Linked DNA regions of Homo sapiens: all the other regions are linked to region 4. The links are contacts of gene promoters, found by promoter capture Hi-C in human tissues and cell types (Jung and others, 2019). All regions are on one chromosome and are shown on one strand. Each heading gives the region's core, a stretch centred on a gene start or on the middle of the fragment in contact. The rest is flanking DNA. Distances are from core to core; before and after follow the strand shown.

The links. The method cuts DNA at HindIII sites, captures the fragments that hold promoters and counts their contacts. A contact is called where the count stands out against the background at its distance.
Region 1: a contact is called between a fragment that was not itself captured here and the fragment with the promoter of RNF4 in region 4, in 1 of the 25 tissues and cell types used here (mesenchymal stem cells).
Region 2: a fragment that was not itself captured here is called in contact with the fragment with the promoter of RNF4 in region 4 in 2 of the 25 tissues and cell types used here (IMR-90 fibroblasts and aorta).
Region 3: a contact is called between a fragment that was not itself captured here and the fragment with the promoter of RNF4 in region 4, in 2 of the 25 tissues and cell types used here (dorsolateral prefrontal cortex and mesenchymal stem cells).
Region 5: a contact is called between a fragment that was not itself captured here and the fragment with the promoter of RNF4 in region 4, in 2 of the 25 tissues and cell types used here (dorsolateral prefrontal cortex and hippocampus).

Annotation. Positions count from the first base shown.
Region 1 is chr4:2,702,229-2,704,974 of GRCh38, reverse strand. All of the region lies in intron 19 of FAM193A (family with sequence similarity 193 member A), which reads right to left. Among named protein-coding and RNA genes, the nearest start is that of TNIP2, 53 kb to the left of the region's middle. The HindIII fragment of the contact is 5,214 bases long and covers 1-2,746 here.
Region 2 is chr4:2,658,747-2,661,446 of GRCh38, reverse strand. It overlaps FAM193A (family with sequence similarity 193 member A), which reads right to left. Exons shown (of 21, transcript NM_001366318.2): 9 at 1,777-1,889; 10 at 1,393-1,635. Among named protein-coding and RNA genes, the nearest start is that of TNIP2, 96 kb to the left of the region's middle. RefSeq lists enhancers at 1,926-2,425, 2,426-2,700. The HindIII fragment of the contact is 4,879 bases long and covers 1-2,700 here.
Region 3 is chr4:2,308,276-2,310,975 of GRCh38, reverse strand. The region is part of intron 7 of ZFYVE28 (zinc finger FYVE-type containing 28); the gene reads left to right. Among named protein-coding and RNA genes, the nearest start is that of MXD4, 48 kb to the right of the region's middle. The HindIII fragment of the contact is 7,202 bases long and covers 1-2,700 here.
Region 4 is chr4:2,467,724-2,470,423 of GRCh38, reverse strand. It overlaps RNF4 (ring finger protein 4), which reads right to left and starts at 1,318. Exons shown (of 8, transcript NM_002938.5): 1 at 1,166-1,318. LOC107986250 (a long non-coding RNA gene) reads left to right here and starts at 1,473. Exons shown (of 2, transcript XR_001741551.3): 1 at 1,473-2,024. RefSeq lists enhancers at 676-795, 840-1,412, 1,096-1,455 and a silencer at 1,606-1,775. The HindIII fragment of the contact is 20,287 bases long and covers 1-2,700 here.
Region 5 is chr4:2,679,481-2,682,180 of GRCh38, reverse strand. All of the region lies in intron 13 of FAM193A (family with sequence similarity 193 member A), which reads right to left. Among named protein-coding and RNA genes, the nearest start is that of TNIP2, 76 kb to the left of the region's middle. The HindIII fragment of the contact is 5,686 bases long and covers 1-2,700 here.

The DNA.
Region 1 (2,746 bases), core at 214-2,713, 230 kb before region 4:
GCGCCACTGCACTCCAGCCTGGGCGACAGAGCAAGATTCCGTCTCAAAAACAAAAACAAAATTCTTAAATACAAAAGGGAAAAGACCAAAAACCTAGTAAGAAATGAGAAATAGGTATGAATAGAAAATTCATACACACAAAAAGAAATAGCCCTTAATAATATATTGACCTCATTGTAATTAGAGGAGAAAAATGCAAATGAAAACTACACTGAGGGCTTACTGTAGCTAACGGATTGGCAACAGTTAAAAAGCCTGACAACTACTCTATAAGCAAGGCTGTGGCCAAACAGGCACTCAGATGCTGCTGGTGGGTGGGCTGACTGGAGGGTTTGGAGAACTTGGACGTAGCTAGCAAAAAAACTATGAAAGCACTTACCTTTTTAAAAATTTTTATTTTATTTTTTTTTCAGATAGGGTCTTGCTCTGTTGCCCAGACTGGAATGCAGTGGCGTGATCTTGACTCACTGCAACCTCCGCCTCCCAGGCTCAGGTGATCCTCCTGCATCGGTGTCTCCAGTAGCTGAGACTATAGGTGAGTGCCACCACACCCGACTAATTTTTGTATTTTTAGTAGAGACAGGGTTCCACATGTTGGTCAGGCTGGCCTCGAACTTCTGACCTCAAGTGATCTGCCTGTCTTGGCCTCTCAAAATGCTGGGATTATGGATGTGAGCCACCATGCCCAGCCTTAATTTTTTTTTTTTTTTTTTGAGATGGAGTCTCACTCTGTTGCCAGGCTGGAGGGCAGTGGTGTGATCTCGGCTCACTGCAACCTCCACCTCCCCAGTTCAAGCAATTATCCTGCCTCAACCTCCCGAGTAGCTGGGATTATAGGCGTGTGCCACCACGCCCAACTGATTTTTGTATTTTTAGTAGAGACGGGGTTTCATGTTGGCCAGCATGGTCTCCATCTCCTGACCTCGTGATCCGCCTCCCTCGGCCTCCCAACATGTTGGGATAACAGGCGTGAGCCACCATGCCCGGCTGCTTTAAATTTTAAGAGACAGGGTCTCACTCTGTCACCCAGGCTGGAGTGCAGTGGTGCAATCATGACACACCGCAGCCTCAAACTCCTGGGCTCCAGCGATTCTCCTGCCTCAGCCTCCCAAGTAGCTGGGACTACAGGCGTGCACCACCATGCCCAGATAAGTGGCTTTTTTTTTTTTTTTTAGTAGAGATGGGGTCTTGCTATATTGCCCAGGCTGGTCTTAAATTCCCGGCCTCAGGTAATCCTCCTGCCTCAGCTTCCCAAAGTGTTGGGATTACAGGCGTGAGCCACCACACCGGGAACACACTTACCTTTTGACCCAGCCCTCTCCCTTCTGGGAAAGTGCTCCAAGGAAACACCTCCAAACAATATGGAAACACATATGCACACAAGTACTTACTGTAGCACTGGGTGTAATGATTAAAACAAAGCATTGAGTCCGGGCACGGTGGCTCACACCTGTAATCCCAGCACTTTGGGAGGCCAAGGTGGGCAGGTCACTTAAGGTCAGGAGTTCAAGGCCAATCTGGCCAACATGGTGAAACCTCATCTCTATTAAAAATACAAAAATTAGCTGGGTATGGTGGCACGTGCCTGTAATTTCAGCTACTTGGGAGGCTGAGGTGGGAGAATTGCTTCAACCTGGGGGGTGGAGGATGCAGTGAGCCGAGATTGCGCCATTGCACTCCAGCCTAGATGACAGAGTGAGACTCCACCTTAAAACAGAAACAAAAACAAAAAACCAAAGCATTAGAAACAACCTAAACGCTCGCACAAAGAAGAGTGACTGCAGAAATCATCGTACACTTTAAATGGAGTACCGTGTCGCTGCAGAAAGAATGAGGACAATCTCTACGAACTGATGTGCAGTGATTCCCAGAATATATGAAGTAGAAAAGAACCCAGAAGTCACTATTATGTCTATAATACACTACCTTTTATGTAAAAAAGAAAAGCAAATAAGAAACTGATTAGTTACCTACAGGGAGTGGGTGGGAACAGATTAAAAAAAAAGAGGAACTGGGTAGGGGAGAAAACAAATGGAACACAAATGGAAAAACGCAATCAGGTGTGTTTTCAATCAATAACGTAATTGTACTAAAGGTGAAAAGAACTAATTTAAGTCATTTGTAAATTCAGTGTAATCACCACACCCTGAGGCTAAAGACAAAAAGAACTGAACAAATACCGAAAGCATGCCCGGAGTTTTCCATCGGGTAAGGGCAGGGACTTCTGAACCCTTTACCTGTGTTGTAGGACTCAGCAAGTCAGTAAAGGCACCATGGATGATGGGGTCCAGGTTCTTACTGTCTAAGGAGTTACAAAGGTGGACGGGGAAGGGAGAACGCTCACTGTAGCACAGGAGTGGGGCTGGGATATCTGTGGGAACTCACGGCTTGTACATAGCAATTAGTGTGTGTAGGTGGCAGGCGCTCGTGTGCACATGCTCACACCCCCACTCCTCCTGCTCTGCTGACTGAGAGGGCCTAAAAGCAATGCCATATGGCAGTGTCCAGGTCTGGGTTTCTGAACACCACTGTTGAAGAAAGAGGAGGGCTCCTTGGAGAAATGGCTGGTTCAGGGCTGGGAGAGAGAAGACACGAGATGAGCCCGGAGCATCGAACCATGACACAAAGTATAAAATGCTTAAAGGCTGGTAGGGCCGCATCAAATGGTCTAAGGAAAAAGCCATTCCGAGGGGGCTCCCACTGACCGAATCTCAGACAATCAAAACAGCAACATAAAGAGTGTTCG
Region 2 (2,700 bases), core at 182-2,681, 190 kb before region 4:
ACTCAGCCATTTGCTCCATGTGACAGCAGGAGGCTTCACCAGCCCTAGCTCCGTAAAGATCCAACCCATAAGATCCAGGAAGTACTGTGTGGTACACTGACTACAATCACATTGTTCTTTTTAACCAACTTAGAAAAGGCACCAAGAAAGAGACAATACAAATGAAAAGATAACACTGGAGATTTTCAAATCATAGTTTACATTTGGAAGACATTGATCACAAGCTGCTGAAGGCCCAGATGTCCCGAGAACCTAGGCTCCCCGTAACTGGTGATGGGCAGTTCCGGCCCAAGGAGAAAGGCTCCCACAGCCAATTTCTTCCACTACCACACGTGACACAAGAGACCATAACTGACATCAGCAGCTGTGACAAATGAACAGGGATGAAATTTTCCATCTTAAATTTTCATTAGGCTATATATGTTTAATTTTTATGTTTCAGTAAGAAGTTGGATAACAGCCAGCTGCAAAAATGTCAACACTCTTTCTTGTGCCCTGGAGAGTACACAGTGTCTCTAAGGCAATAAACAGCAGCCTGCAATCTTTGTATGAAGAGAGTCAGTGAGTTTAAACCAGTCCTTTCAGAATTATTTTGTCTGAGAACAAGCCCAAATTGAAAATGGAAAGACTGAAGGAAAACGTCAGTCACCATGAGAAATCCAGACAGAAGGAATGAACACAAGTCAGTTGGTCAGAGAAATCCCAGAAACGCTGCATAGCCAAGGTCAGGAACAACAATCTCTCCCACTGCACACTTCCACATGGAACATGATGCCTGTGTGCTCTACGATACACGTAAACTAAACCTAAGCTGACTTTGGCAACTACATATGATCAAGTGCAACCCTTTTGGAAATTAGCATGTGAAGCCTCCCCAAATGACAGGGTCACAACTCTGAAGAAATCTGGGAACAGCCAACTACAATGTGAATTGGTGACAGCTGCACAACAATGTACTTCTAATCATGCGGGAACATGAAAAACAGAAACCTTCAACTGCTTGCTAAAGCGATCACCTGAGTTCTTAGCAAGACATGAAACAAGCATGAGTGCTGGGCTGACAGGGAGACAGGACAGACGGCGGACTGGTCACCCTTTAGGAGAATGAGGAGATGTGAGGCCGGAATTAGAGACACTTCTTCTCTGCATACCAACATGTTTTTTCTTTACTGGCCTTTATTAATTTACCATGTTTTTTTTTTCCCAGATAAACAGTGTTAAAAGTTTGGGTTTACTGATTTCATGTTTTAAAAGCTGCATTAAAAACCTCAGGGTCCCTTGTCATGAAAAGCACAATAATGATGTTCATACTTCTGTGGACATTACTGTATGTATTTCTCATTACTGGGGCGACTTAAATTTCGGAAACTTTATTACAAAGTCACAACTTACAAAGTTGGTGCCGAGCCACTGTCTGTGAGGATGAGCCTGGGGTGCTGCTGAATTGTGATGGGAGAGCTGGAGCCGGACCCCGAGCTTGCAGATGACACACTGGGCGGGCTCCTCTCAGCAAGATAGTCAGGAGCAGGATCCACTTGAAGTGGGAGCTGGTGAATGTGGATGTCATCAGTGACGGGGGGGTCCATGATACCACACGTGAGGATGTGTGAGAGACTGCAGTCATCGCAAGCACATCTGATCAGGAATTAAGGACAGTTACCAAGCCAACCAATGCACAAGACTAGACCATGCTCTCTAAGGGTCGGTTCTAGGCCTCCACTCAGCCCAGTGAAGGTCCAATGGGCCAGTCGTGCTGACACCACAACCCAGCCTTACCTTCTCCTGTAGTTGCAGTTGGGGCAGTCGGGCATGCTCAGCCGGGACGATAACATGTGCCTCATGGTGTCTGTGAAGTTGTTCTCGCCAGTAACTGCTTTCTTATTGGTTAACTAGAGGAAATTTTAAAATGCTTTAATCTTGCAAGACCCTTCCCCGAGACATGGCTCATTATTTTTCAGTAATTCTGCTGACATGTATCATGTTCACGGGCACTGCTTCCTCAGCGGGACAGGACCAGGAATACAGGGGCAGCAGACCTGGAGTCGGCAGCAAGCTGGGGGCTGAGCTGCAAAGGGCTCGGGTACCAGGAGACCCTAATCGCTTTTGTCTTCAGCAAACATGCTGCAGTGCGCCCTCACAGCACACACCTGATGCAGAAACCCGGCCTTTACCCTGTCTGCCATGTGCTTGGTACTTGCAAGGTACTGAGAACAGAGCTGTAGGAATGAAAAGTGGCACGTGGAGGGCAAGGGGTCGGCCTCGGAGCTATTGAGGAAATGGCACCTCAACTTCTAACAGACAAGGTGAGCATCTGCATTTCAAAGGAGAAGGAACTCTGGACCCACTCTGGCAATGGGACAGGTGGCAGCTGGAAGGGCCACTCAAAAGGACGGGATGGCCGGGAAAGGTGGCTCACGCCTGTAATCCCAGCACCTTGGGAGGCAGAGGCAGGCGGATCACCTGAGGTCAGGAGTTTGAGACCAGCCTGGCCAACATGGTGAAACCCCATCTCTACTAAAAATACAAAAATTAGCCAGGCGTGGTGGCTGGCACCTGTAATCCCAGCTACTCAGGAGGCTGAGACACGAGTACCGCTTGAACCCGGGAGGCAGAGGTTGCAGTGAGCCGAGTTCACGCCACTGCACTTCAGCCTGGACGACAGAGTGAGACTTTGTCTCAAAACAACAACAACAACAAAAG
Region 3 (2,700 bases), core at 171-2,670, 160 kb after region 4:
ATTAAAGAAGTTGAATTCATTATTTTAAAACCTTCCCACAGAGAAAACATCAGACACAGATGGCTTTCCTTATGTATTCTTCTAAACATTTAAAGAAGAAATAACACAAATCTTATATAAATTCTTTCAGGGAATAGAAAAAAAGACATTTTCTAACTTTTTTTATAATTATTGAACAAACTCTCACTTTGTCATGCAGGCTGGAGTGTGGTGGCACAATCTAGACTCACTGCAATCTCTGCCTCCCAGGCTCAAGCGATCCTCCCACCTCAGCCTCCTGAGTAGCTGAGACCACAGGCATGCACCACCATGCCCAACTAATTTTTGTATTTTTTGTAGAGACAGGGTTTTACTGTGTTGCCCCAGCTGGTCTCAAACTCCTGGGCTCAAGCAATCTGACTGCCTTGGCCTCCCAAAATGCTGTGATTACAGGCATGAGCCACCATACCCAGCCCTAACTCTTTTTTTTGTTTTTCAATAAGAGTATAATCTAGACATTTAAACCTGACCAAGATATTACAAGAAACAAAAACTACACCAATCTCTCATGAACATAGATGCAAATACCCTTAAAAAGATACAGACAAATGAAAATCAACCATATATAAATAAGATATATCATGACCAAGAGAAATATATCTGGGCACAGTGGCTCACACTTGTAATCCCAGGACTTTGGAAGGCTGAGGCAGGAGGATCGCTTGAGCCCAGGAGTTTGGGACCAACCTGGGCAATATAGTAAGACCTGATCTCTACAAAAAATTTACAAATTAGTTGAGCATGGTGGTACACATCTGTACTGACAGCTACTTGGGAGGCTGAGATGGGATGACTGCTTGAGCCAGGGAGGCAGAGGCTGCAGTGAGCTGTGATCAGGCCACTGCACTCCAGCCTGGGTGACAGCGCAAGACATTATCTCAAAATTAAAAAAAAAAGAAATGTATTCCAGATATGCAAGACTGGCTTAACATATGGAAATCAAATTGATGTTTTGCCACATTAATTTTAAAAATTGGAAGAAAAATCATATAATTTTGAAAGATTCAAGAAAAGCATTTGAAAAAATTTCACACCAATTTTATGGTGAAAACATCTCTTAGCAATAAACAAAACAGAACAAGAAAAGCATCTCTTAGCAAACTAGGAATAGGAGGGAATTTCCTTAACCTGGTCACAGATAGATATAGAAACAGATTTCGTCCGTGCGTATCTCTGTGTGTGTGTTGTCTGTTGTGTGTGTACTGCAGCACACTTCCCTGAGATTGGGAAGAAGATGTCTACTATTCACTATCTCCATTTAACATTGTTTTCTGGCCCAGCAAGTGCAATAAGGCAAAAATAGAAGGAAAATTAGGAAGTTACACAGCATTGGAAATGAAGGACTAAAACTGCCATTTTATGTAGATAACGTGATCAAGTACCTAGGAAACTCAGGAGCATCTTCAAACTATTAGAAATAATAAGTAGATTTAGCAAGGTCACTAGGTGAAACATCAATATACAAAAATAAGTGGTCTTTCTGTATGCCAGCAATAAATAAATGCGAAATGAAATCAAAATACTGTCTTAGTCAATTTTGTGTTGCTATCACAGAATACCTAAGACTCAGTAATTTATAAAGCAAGGAGGTTCGTTTAGCTCATGATTCTGGAGGTTGGGAGGTCCAAGATCAAGTGGCTGCATCTGGTTAATTTCTTGTGCGGACCTCGTGCTCTGTCATAACGTGGCAGAGAAGCAGGAGGGGAAGGGGGCGTGTGCAAAGAGGCCAAACACAAGAGGCAACCTCACTTCATGACAACCCACTCTTGTGGTAACTAATTTGGTCTCATGAGAAATGCATTAATCTCCTTAATGACCTAATCACCTCTTAAAGACACCACCTCTAAACACCACCACATTGGGAACTAAATTTCAACCTGAGTTTTGATGGGGACAAACCACCCCTAAACCATAGCAAATACCACCTATGGTAGTGCCAGTAAATATCAAATACGTAAGCATAAATCAAATTAACGATGTCCAAGACCTCCATTGAAAGTTATAAAATGTTATTACCATAAATTTTTAAAGCCCTGGACAGCAATTCCATTCAGAGAGAGGAACCCCTGATGTTATGAAGATATCAGTTGGTCTCAAATTAATCTATGAGTTCAATGCAGTCTCAATCAAAATCCCAGAAGCTAGCTAGCTTCCTTCCTTCCTCCCTCCCTCTTTCTCTCTTTTCTTTCCTTCCTTCCTTTCTTTTCTTTTTTCTTTCTTTTCTTTTCTTTTTTCTTTTCTTTTCTTTTCTTTCTTTCTCTTTCTTTCTTTCTTTCTTTCTTTCTTTCTTTCTTTCTTTCTTTCTTTCTGTCTTCTTTCTTTCTTTCTCTCTCTCTGTCTCTCCTTCCTTCCTTTCTTGCTTTCCTTCTTTCCTTTCTCTTTCTTTCTGCATTCTCTCCTCCCCCTCCCCTCCCCTCCCTCCCTCCCTCCCTTCCTTCCTTCCTTGTAGAAATTGATAAACTAATACTAAAATGCATGTGGAGATGCAAGGGGCCTGGAATAGCCAAGCAGCAGCAGAACGTTGTCTGTTCTACTCTCAATGGGCTTTGGGTAGTTTCCACAAATAGTGCTGCTGTGACTACCCCTGTGTGTGTCTCCAGGTGAACATATGTATGCTTTTCTGCTGTGTGTACTTCATAAAAAAAGAACAAAGGCCAGGCA
Region 4 (2,700 bases), core at 69-2,568:
TCAAACTCACAGATAAAACTGAACCCAATATGTCCTTGTCCATTAAAAAGCAAATCACCAAGAAAGTAACAAAAGATTCCCTTCAATGTCTCTTTTATTGACAGTGGTCCCAAAACTCCTGGTCAATGAATTCAAAACCCAAATCTTGCAGGTAGGACTTAACCTCATCTGCTGCCAAATAGCTGGCTATGTGACCTTGGGCAGACCACTTCACTTTTCTGGACCTCAGTCTCCCCAGTCAGTTGGACAGTCTAAGCCAGGCTCCAGAGCTGAGACCCTACGTCTGGCTCAAGAACTTGGTGCAGAAACAGAACGAAGATTATTAAGTTTGTGAACGTCTATGGGAACTGACAAGTGAAAGACAAAAGCTGAAATCCCTACCAAAACGGCTTGCCCAAGCTCTATCCTTTTCCCTCTTCCCTCGATGGATCAAAGGCGGAAAAGCGGTGTTTACTAGCAACTCTGTTTCGGGTCGTGAGAATCTTCATACACCTGTCTATAGGCGCGCCAGAGCGGTGAAGGGCCCGAGCGGTGCAGGGCTGGGCCGCAAGCCTCACAGTCGCACGTTCCACCAACCACCAGCCGGGGCCCGGAAGCGCGCCCGGAAATCGAGGCCCTACTAAGTTTTAGACTGCGACCTCGGCGCCCCCACGGTCAGGCCCGCACCCGTACTCAGATCCTCCCGACCTACAAAAGGCCCCGCCACGCGGCCCACGCACCCCGGCAAACTCGCAGGCCCCACGATGGCGGGGCGGCGGCGCGAACACACAAAGGAGGCGTCGTCAGCGGGGAACAAAAACCCTGCCCGGGTCTTCCCCCTAACAGCACATCCTGCCCGACTTTCCAAGTGACCTTGGGGGCGTTCCTGCCCCTCCCAGAGTCTCAGTTTCCCTTCCTAGGCTAGGAACTAAGCCCCATGGCCGCGGCCCCCCAGGGTGAGCCGAGACCCAGACGCAGACCTCCTAACTTCTGTTGCCCGCGCCAAGCCGGGCTCGGTGCGCCCGCGCGGACGGCAGTGCGAGCGACCAGAGCTGGCTCGAGGTCCCGGGCTGCAAAGCCTCGGCTGGGTCAAGCCGCGCAGCGCGGCTCCCCCAAGAGGCGCGGGCCGAGGCCTCTGTAGGCCGCGAAGCTGCCTAAACCTCGCATCTGCAAGGCCCTGACTTACCGCTGCTTTCCCGCAAAGCTCGGCCTAACCTGGAGCTAGTTAGGTCCGCAGGCGCCACCGCCGGCGCACTCCGGAGAAGAAGCTCCTTCTTCAGCCGCCCAGGAGAGCTCCTCGAGAAAGATGCCGCCGCCTCAACAGCAACCCACTTCCGCTTCGGAGGCCTCGGCTCCGCCCCCCATCATGTCCCCATTGGCCGCCCGCCTACTCTACTTCCGCGGTCGGCCGGGTAAGGACAAATTTTTTAATCCTATTGGATAAGAAAACCATCTGTTACCACTTTAAAACGCGCCTCTTTCCGCCCCCGCCCACAATCGAGCGCACTAACTCGCACCTTCCGGCAAGAGACGGCGCGGGCGCGCCCCGCCCGCAAGGTTTTTCGGGAGTCACGGTCTGAGGGCGACCCGGGCGACCCGGTCGCCCGTGCCCGGCTGCCACTGACCGCTCCAACGCCGCCAGGGACGACCCGCCAGCTGCCTCCGGAGCCGAGCAGGCCCCGAACCTTCCCATTCCTAGATTTCCAGCCGCACAACAGCCGCGGTGCCCCTGGCTCGACGCAGCTGGCCGGAGGCGCGGAGCTGGTCGTTCGTCCCGCCCGCCGTTCCGCGCCCCTCTCCCGGCTCTTGTTTCCTCGCCTCTTAACGAGGCCTTTGTGAGGAAGGTTGCTGGGCCTTGGGACTCTGACGATCGGCTGGAAACCAGGCCTGGCCCTGTTTCAGCATCCCCGCGTGCCAAGCCCTGGGCCGGCGTGCGGGTCCCTGCCCCTGCGAGGAAGCTGGGACTTTTGCAGGCCTGGGTGGAGACGTGTACATAACAGAGGAAGAGTGTGGAGGATTGGAGGACTCAGGGCAGCACGGCAGAGGTGCATGCAGGTCCCCGGTCGGACTGGAGAATGGGCGGTGGGTTTCTTGAGCTCCAGTCCCTGAGCTCGACTTTGACGTGGGTTTAGCAACCAGGAAAAAAGCCCACCTTGTCCCTGCTGCCTGAGAATACCCAGACCTTAGTCCATGGCCAGCATCTCTGGTCCCTCGGCACCCTCAGGCAACGTGAAGGTCACCCCAAATGCCTTGGGTTACATTGTTTCCTTACAGTGAGTTTGTTTGTTTTAGTGGCGCGATCTCGGCTCACTGCAAGCTCTAACCTCCTGGGTTCACGTGATTCTCCTGCCTCAGCCTCCCGAATAGCTGGGATTACAGGCGCCTGCCACCACGCCCGGCTAATTTTCTTTGTATTTTTAGTAGAGATGGAGTTCCATCATGTTGGCCAGGCTGGTCTCGAGCTCCTGACCTCAGGTGATCCACCCTCCTTGGCCTCCAAAAGTGCTGGGATTACTGGTGTGAGCCACCTCGCCCGGCCACCTTACAGTGAGTTTCTAACCTCGAAAATGGAGTCAAATAACGGAATGACAAGGCAGATAGAAACCAGAGCATTAACGTTTTTGTGTTGCATTTACAAACAATATGTGTTTGCTATTTTTCGTAATTGTAAGGAAATCTGGCATGGTAGAGTATCTGATAGATAAATGTAATTCTCATGTA
Region 5 (2,700 bases), core at 59-2,558, 210 kb before region 4:
AACCCTGTCTTTACTAAATATACAAAAAATTAGCCGGGCATGGTGGTGGGCACCTGTAGTCCCAGCTACTTGGGAGGCTGAGGCAGGAGAATGGTGTGAACTCAGGAGGTGGAGCTTGCAGTGAGCCGAGATCGCATCACTGCACTCCAGCCTGGGCGACCGAGGAAGACTCTGTCTCAAAAAAAAAAAAAAACCAAAAAAAAAAAAACCCTGAGAAGTTAAAAGTAAAGGGATGGAAACAACCAATGGATCAATAAAGAAATTACAAAGAAAAGCAGAAAATACTTAGAGACAAATGAAAACAAAAACATAACATACTGAAACTTACGGGACGCAGTGAAAGCAAGCACTAAGAGCAAAATGTATAGCTACAAACACATCAAAAAACAAGAAAGATCTCTATCAGCAACCTAACTAGGATAGGCGTGGTGGCTCATGCCTGTAATTCCAGCACCTTGGGAGGCTGAGGCAGGAGGACTGCTTGAGCCCAGGAGTTTGAGACCAACCTGGGCAACATGGTGAGACCTCCGTCCCTACGTAAATAAATACATAGACAGACAGATAGATAGCTGGGCATGGTGGCACACACCTGTAGTCCAAGCTACGAGACTATGGGTCAGGAGGATTGCTTGAGCCCAGGAGGTCGAGGTTGCAGTGACCCAAGATCGCACCACTACACTCCAGGCTGGGCAACTGAGTAAGCTTTGTCTCAATAACAACAACAAATAAAATGAAACAAAAAACCCTCCCTAACTTCACATCTTAATGAATTAGAAAAAGAACAATCTAAACCCAAAGCTAGCAGAAGAAAGGTAATTTAGAGCAGAGATTAATGATCAATGAAATAGAGAATAGAAAAACAATAGGGGAAAAAAAAAATCAATGAAACCAAAATATAGTTCTTTGAAAAGAGAAACAAAACTGACAAAACTTTAGTGAGATGGAGTAAGAAAAAAAAAAGACTCAAATTACTATAATCAGAAATGAAAGTGGGGACATTATTATTGATTACACAGAAATAAAAGGGGCTGGGAGTGGTGGCGCACACCTGTAATCATAGCTACTTGGGAGGCTAACACAGGAGAATCATTTGAGCTCAAGCGTTCGAGGCTCCAGTGAGCTATGATCGTGCTACTGCACTCCAGCCTGGGCAACAGAGCAAGCATATCTCTAAAAAGCAGAAAATTAAATTAAAATTAAGAAAAAAACATAAAAGGTATTATAAGAAAGTACTGGCTGGGCTCGGCGCTGTAGCTCACGCCTGTAATCCCAGCACTTTGGGAGGTCCAGGTGGGTGGATCACCTGAGGTCAGGGGTTCGAGACCAGCCTGACCAACATGGTGAAACCCCATCTCTACCAAAAATACAAAAATTAGCCGGGCATGGTGGTGGGCGCCTGTAATCCCAACTATATGGGAGGCTGAGGCAGGAGAATCTCTTGAACCTGGGAGGCAGAGGTTGCAGTGAGCCAAGATGGTGCCATTGCACTTCAGCCTAGGTGACAAAGCAAGACTCCGTCTCAAAAAAAAAAGTAAGTAAGTATTGGCTGGGCTTGGTAACTCATGCCTATAATCCCAGCACTTTGGGAGGCTGAGGTAGTAGGACTGCTTTAGCCCAGGAGTTTCAGTCCAGACTGGGTAACATAGTGAGACCCTGTCTTCTCTCTGGAAGAGTCCAAAACAATAAAAAAAAAATTAGCTGGGAGTGGTGGCACATGCCTGTAATCCCAGCTATTGGGGGGCCAAGGGAGGAGGAATGCTTGAGCCCAGGAGTTTGAGGCTGCAATGAGCTATGATCATGTCATTGTACTCCTGCCTGGGTGACAGAGTGAGATGCCGTTTCAAAGAAAAAAGAAAGTATTACGAACAACTGTACACCAACACACTGGATAAAACAGATGAAATGAAAAAATTTTTAGAAACACAAAACCTATCAAGACGAAATCATAAAGAAATAGAAAAGTCTGAACAGACCTGTAACTAGTAAGGAGATTGAACTGGTAATCAAAAACCACCCAATAGGCTGGGCGCAGTGGCTCACGCCTGTAATCCCAGCACTCTGGGAGGCCAAGATGGGTGGATAACCTGAGGTCAGGAGTTTGAGACCAGCCTGGCCAACATGGCAAAACCCCGTCTCTACTAAAAATACAAAAATTAGCTGGGTGTGGTGGCATGTGCCTGTAGTTCCAGTTACTTTGGAGGCTGAGGCCAGGGAATCGCTTAGAATCTGAGAGGCGGAGGTTGCAGTGAGTGGAGATTGTGCCACTGCATTCCAGCCTGGGTGACAGAGCAAGACTCCGTCTCAAAGAAAAAAAAAAAAATCACCCAATAAAGAAAAGCCCCAAACCTGATGGCTTCACTAGTCAATTCTACCAAATATTTAAAGAATTAATACCAATCTTTCTCAAAGTTTCCAAAAAACTGAAGAGGAGGGAACACTTTCTAACTCATGTCCTGAGCATATCCCCATACCAAAGCCAAAGACACTGTAAGAAAAACTACAGGGTCGGGCGCGGTGGCTCACACCTGTAATCCCAACACTTTGGGAGACCGAGGCGGGTGGATCACCTGAGGTCGGGAGTTCGAGACCAGCTGACCAACATGTAGAAACCCTGTCTCTACTAAAAATACAAAATTAGCCGGGCCTCGTGGTGCATGCCTGTAATCCCAGCTACTCTGGAGGCTGAGGCAGGAGAATCAC